Linked DNA regions of Homo sapiens: region 1 is linked to region 2. Evidence: promoter capture Hi-C in human tissues and cell types (Jung and others, 2019). All regions are on one chromosome and are shown on one strand. The core of a region is centred on a gene start or on the middle of the fragment in contact, and the rest is flanking DNA. Distances in the headings are between cores, read along the strand shown. Region 1 overlaps KAZN (kazrin, periplakin interacting protein). Region 2 holds the start of CTRC (chymotrypsin C).

Evidence for each region. Contacts are between HindIII fragments. The study calls those that stand out against the background at their distance.
Region 1: a fragment that was not itself captured here is called in contact with the fragment with the promoter of CTRC in region 2 in 1 of the 25 tissues and cell types used here (dorsolateral prefrontal cortex).

Annotation. Positions count from the first base shown.
Region 1 is chr1:15,106,213-15,109,407 of GRCh38, forward strand. The region is part of intron 13 of KAZN (kazrin, periplakin interacting protein); the gene reads left to right. Among named protein-coding and RNA genes, the nearest start is that of TMEM51-AS1, 45 kb to the right of the region's middle. The HindIII fragment of the contact is 5,129 bases long and covers 1-3,195 here.
Region 2 is chr1:15,436,919-15,440,077 of GRCh38, forward strand. CTRC (chymotrypsin C) reads left to right here and starts at 1,525. Exons shown (of 8, transcript NM_007272.3): 1 at 1,525-1,586. The coding sequence starts at 1,547. The HindIII fragment of the contact is 5,601 bases long and covers 1-3,159 here.

The DNA.
Region 1 (3,195 bases), core at 369-2,868, 330 kb before region 2:
TGAGGCTGCAGTGAGCTATGATTATGCCACTGTACTCCAGCCTGGGTAACAGAGCAAGGGTCCATCTCTACAAAACAGAAAAACAAAACAAAACCCTCCTCCAGGAGCCATGAATCAAAAGACACAGGAAAAAGCCTTTTCTCCTCAGAATTATCCCCTTTCCCTGACTTCCCTTCTGGAGCCACATGATCTGTAACAAACTTTTTTCTGAGCCCTGGAGAGATGGCTCTAGCTGAATATTAGCAGGCATTTGTGTATCTGATTAAACTCTTGACCACTCATGAGGTGACAGGTGTGTTCAGGACTAAGACTAGTCAGGGAGCACCAGAGAAGGGACTGGTGGGGACAAATAGGGTGGGTTCTTATGTTGTGGTGGGGCAGGGACTTCTTCAAGAATGAGACGAAATCAATGAACCTCTCAATGATAAGATAAGAGGGAAATGACTCTGTCCAGGCTCCACATTCACCAAGAGCTTATGGGTCCCAATATGACGTCATCTCTAGTCTCTTCCCACAACTTTGACAATGCACATGACCCAAAGGCGCCAAGGAGAAGTCTCTGCCATGGTCTCATGGTATCTGCTTTGACACACACTGACTTCCTGCATCTCCCGATAAACCTTGGTCCGGCGCCAACAATGTGTCAGTCATAGGACTGTTCTTTAAGGACCTGGAGAATAAAACCAGTGGGCAGGAAGGATGCAGCAAGGAGCAGAGGTACCCAAAGGCAGCTGCCAGGGGATCGGAGGAGTCAAAACAAACAAAAAAAATATGCCTTGAAGGCAATATGGCCTGTCACTAAAACAGAGTCAGGGACAGGACACACAAAGGAGCAGGACTGGAACCAGAGCAGGACTGGAACCCAGGTCTCTACTCCTAGTCAGAAGCTCTTTCTGGAACTGATCTCTCTCCCCTGGGATCTAAGCTAGAATAGTGCCCCTTTTGCCATAAAAGCCACCCTCCACAGTCATTGAACACCTGCTGTGAGCAGGCACTTGGGTGATCCATGTCCTGCCTTCACGAAGCTTACAGAGATGGGAGAAGACCTCATAGGTGGATGGTGTGGAGTTCCAGCCCAGGGCCTGCTTCCACTCCAGGTTTTCTCTCTTTCCCTTTTTTAATAGATCTCTGAGGGTCTCTGCTCATCCAAGAAAGGCTTTGGCTCCCATCCAGGCAAGAAACTGGTTTCATAGACAACTAGGTGAAGACATAAACCCATCCAGAATGCCTTGTGGCACTCTAGCCCCAGGCAACCCAAGTTCAAATCCCAGCAGCACCAATCCTGGCTGTGTGACCCTGGGCAAGTTACTTAACCTCTCTGAACTGTACTTTCCTCATTTGTAAAATGAGTATGGTAATCACTATCTGCCACCCAAAGAGTTGATGGCAAGATGAGATAAGACAATGCATAAAGCAATTGGCAAAGGAACCAGTACATCATAAGACACCCAATAATATAAATATTAGTGATTTATTCCAAACCCACCCCTAGCCCCACCACCGCTGCCTCCCATTCCTCCTCTGCAGGGCAATGGCTGCAATGTGGTTTCGAGCCCCAGCATCACTGCTTTCTTGCTGTGTTGAACATGAGCTAGTGGTTTTAGGTTTTACTCTCTGAGCCTCAGTTTCTTCCTCTGTAATAGGGGAATATGACTCATACCGACCTTGTAGCTTTGTTCCAAAGGTTCAGTGAGGCAAATTGTATGCAGCCTGCTTGATACATAGATGCCCGGCAGTAACTGAGAGCTTCTGCCCCTGCCTTCATCTGGAGGCAGAAGAATCTCCATGCAGTCAATTTCCTCTGGAGTAGCTGCATAGGAGTCCCCTTCTGTCAGTTTGCTCCAGCGTTCTCATTAGCATTTCAATGGAGAAGAACAATTCCATTACAAACTCAAATAGACTTGACCCTCAAACACATAGAATGAGAGAACCTTGTCACCTGTCCCACCTCCTCGGCTGACAGGCTTCCCAAGACATTGGCAATGGAAAACATTTATTCTCTGGTCACTCAGCAGGCCGCTGGAATGGGGGTGGAAGGACACATTGAGCTTAGATGAGATTCTGTCCCACCCCACCCTCAAACCATCCCTGAAATGTGAGCCCAAACTCCAGGCACTGGGTCAGCTGAGTGCCCAGAGGCGTGGGCCTGTGTGCAATGGGACCCAGCGGGGCCTTTGAGGCCACATTCTGGCTCCTCCGCCATCATCGTGTGATTTTAGACAAGAAATTTACCCTCTCTGAGCCACGGTTTTTTCAGCTTGCAATGGGGATGATCACTCCTTCTTCCCAGGGCTTTGCAGAGGGTTTGCTGAGCCACCGTGGTGAGGAGCTGACAGTGTGCCCAGCACGTAGTGGGTGGCCCTCGAGTACTCTTTCCTTCCCATTCATTTTCTCCAGCACAGCATCTTGTGCCTCTCTGCCCTTGTAAATCCTTGGTTAATGGGTTGAGACTCAATGCTCGGGCTGGCCCACCTGGTGGAGGCTGACTCCCAACCCCCAACCTTCCTTCCTGCACCATGATGCCTATTTAGTGCCCAGGGTTCTCTACATTGACTCAGGAGAGTCCAGTGAGATGCCCCATTCTCCATAACGTTCCCTCATCAAAAGTTCCCCTTCTAACGTACCATTTCCTCGAGGTCTAAGTGACTAGAAATACTTAATAGGTCGGTTCAAAGCTTCCAAAGACCTTGGCCCTGTGCTTGGCTTATGCCCTGGAGTTTTCGTGTTTTCATCTTATCCAAAGGCCTAGATGGGGGGATTTCAGCCACTGTGGAAAAAATAAGGAGGGAGGATATTTTGGCACACTGGAGGCCAAGGTCACCCCGTATTCCTTTGTCTACAGAAAGACAACCACTTTCTGTGCATAGGGTAGCTTGTTAAGACCAGGGCTGGCCAGGCACGGTGGCTCACACTTGTAATCACACCACTTTGGGAGGTCGAGGCCGGTAGATCACTTGAGCCCAGGAGCTGGAGACTAGCCTGGGCAACATGGCAAAACCCGGTCTCTACCAAAAATACGAAAATTAGCTGGGTGTGGTGGCGTGCACCTGTAGTCCCAACTGCTTGTGAGGCTGAGGTGGGAGGATCACCTGAGCCCAGTAAGCCAAGATTGCACCACTGCACTCCAGCCTGGGCAACAGAGCGAGACCCTCGCTCAGAGGAAAAAAAAGATCAGGGCTGCTTACTGGACTTTAT
Region 2 (3,159 bases), core at 275-2,774:
GCCAACCCCGAATGCCGGAGGCTCTGGTAGAATTTCTGCTACTCAGTGCTTTGGGCCCTCAGATCTGCCACTGACCTTGACATTCAAGTTACAGAATTGTAGAACTGAAAGGAGCCTGAAAGTCCATCTGGTCCTTTTGCCCATTTTAGAGATGGGGAAACTGAGGACCTACAACTAAGCTGACTCCAGGAAGGAATCTGGCCAACTAAGCACCTTCCAGAGCCTGCTGCATCCCTGCCTCCAACCACAGCCCTGGAGGCAGGTGCAGGAGTGCATCAAGCCCAGGCAATTAGAAAGATGAGACAGAGAGAGAGCCAGGAAGCGATCCAATAGCACTAGAAAGGCAGAGAAGGAGCAGCATGTCTCCACAGCTTGAAGCCCCAGGCTGGTGTTAGAAGCTTTGGCTTCAAAGTCTGGCTCTGCTGCTGCCCAGCCGTGTGACCCTAGATGGTCACTTACCCGCTGAGTCTCAGCTTCCTCACTTTTATTTTATTTTTTTAGAGACAAGGTCTTGTTCTGTCACCCGCGCTGGAATGCAGTGTGGCACGATCACGGCTCACTGCAGCCTCGAACTCCTGGGCTCAAGCGATCCTCCTACCTTGGCCTCAGGAGTAGCTGGGACTACAGGCATGCACCACTGCGCCTGGTCCTTTCTCATCTCACCTCAGAGCAGATAACCGCGTCTATTTCATGTTGTTGGAAGAATTAAGTGAGATAATGCAAGAAGAATTGAGCGCAATGCCTGACACACAGTAGGTGCCCAATAAATAACTAAAAAGAATAAGGTAACGGCCTGTAATCACACCTGTAATCCTAGCACTTTGGGAGGCTGAGGTAGGCAGATTGCCTAAGCTCAGGAGTTCAAGACCACCCTAGGCAACAGGGTGAAACCCTGTCTCTACTAAAATACAAAAAAAAAAAAAAAAAAAAAATGGTGGCACACATCTGTAGTCCCAGCTACTTGGGAGGCTGAGACAGGAGAATCGCTTGAACTCGGGAGGCGGAGGTTGTAGTGAGCTGAGACTCCAGCCTGGGTGACAGAGCAAGATCCTGTCTCAAAAAAATAAATAAAATACAAAAGATTAACCTGGCGTGGTGGCAGGCGCCTGTAGTCCCAGCTACACAGGGGGCTAAGGCACGAGAATCGTTTGAGCCCGGGAGGTGGAGGTTGCAGTGAGCTGAGACTGTGCCACTGCATTTCAGCCTGGGCAACAGAGCAAGACTCCATCTCCAAATAAATAAATAAATAGTATAAGGTAGGGAGAGAGAATGAACACACACGTCAAACAGAGTGGGGTGGGGGATGCCAAAAAGCACTGCAACTCAGAATTTTCTGTTTCAGGATATTTGGAAAATCCATACTTCTAAGAAAGCCCTGTCTCCTGCCCAAATTAAACAGTAACCACCCAAGGTCAGGGAAAGGGCCTTATCAGAGCAGGTTTCTCTCCAAGGGGCGGTTTGGCCTTGACCAGGTGCACTCACCTGCTCCTGCCTATAAGTGTGCCCCAGCCCATCCCGATGGTCAGCCAGTCCTGAGCACCTAACCATGTTGGGCATCACTGTCCTCGCTGCGCTCTTGGCCTGTGGTAAGCGGTGGGGTGGGGCTGCAGCTAGCAGGCTGTGAGCTCGGGCTGGCCTCCAGGGCAAGGACGGGATGGGGAGTGGGGGGGCCTCTGCTCTCCAGGTAAGACACTTTGGGGTCCCCTGTGGGTTCAGATGCTACCAACCAGCTGTGTGTCAGACAAGCCACAGCCTGCCTGCCAACTCTGTTTCCACATCTGCAAAACAGGGAAGATGATCTGACGTGTCCCCAGTTAGAAATGAGGTGTGGAAAGCACCACGCAAGGGGGAGGGACACGAGATGCCTCATCCTGGGTTCACCCCAGGGACCATCGGGGTCTGCCTTTCCCAGCATTCTCTCTCCCTTGAGGATTCTCCATTCCATCATTTTGGTGGCGTTTTCCCAGATTAGGAGCCCAGGGACTTAGCTTAAATGCCACTTCTTCTCTGCAGGACCTGGAAAAGTCATTTCACCTCTCTAAATCTCACTAACTTTTTTGGCAAAGGAGAGCACTTAATGAAGAGTCCTTCCAGCTAACAACAACAACAGTAATAATAGCAGCTCCTGTTTCCTGTGTGTTTACTATGTGCCAGACGCTATGCTAGGCCCCTTACATGTAGGAGCCAATTTAATCCTCAAAACAACCTTAAGAGGTAGGGTCTATTGCCAGGCATGGTGGCTCACGCCTGTAATCCCAGCACTTTGGGAGGCCGAGGTGGGTGGATCACTTGAGATCAGGAGTTTGAGACCAGTCTGGCCAACAAGATGAAACCCCGTTTCTACTAAAAATACAAAAATTAGCCAGGCGTGGTGGCGGGCACCTGTAATCCCAACTACTCAGAAGGCTGAGGCAGGAGAATTGCTTGAACCCAGGAGGAGGTTGCAGTGAGCCGAGATCGCGCCATCAAACTCCAGCCTGGGCAACAAGAGTGAAACTCCGTCTCAAAAAAAAAAAAAAAAGAAAAAGAAAGAAAAAGAGGTAGGGTCTTTTCATAGCCCCATTTTACAGATGAGGACATCGAGGTTCCGTGCGACTTAGTATCTTGCCTGACATCACATGGCAGGTTAGTGGAAGAGGCAGAATTTGAGTCCACGTCTGTCTCGCGGAACAGCACGTGTTCTTGACCGCTCCACACAGCTTCCCAGCTATAACAGTGGATTTACTGCTCTCTCACACACACACCATGATGCAGGGGCCTAAAAACAGACAGAAGAACACAGGTGTACCGGGCACTCGCACACATGCCAGCCAGTTTTGTTTTGTTTTGTTTTGTTTTTTGAGATGGAGTTTTGCTCTTATCACCCAGGATGGAGTGCAATGGCACGATCTCGGCTCACTGCAACCTCCATCTCCCAGGCTCAAGCGATTCTCCTGCCTCAGCCTCCTGAGTGGCTGGGATTACAGGCATGCACCACCACGCCTGGCTAATTTCTGTATTTTTAGTAGAGACAGGGTTTCGCCATGTTGGCCAGGCTGGTGTCAAACCCCTGATCTCAAGCGATCCACCCGCCTTGGCCACCCAAAGTGCTGGGATTACAGGTGTGAGCCACCGTGCCCGGCCAAACGCTTTCTTTTTTATGTGTTGTCTAATTCAGTT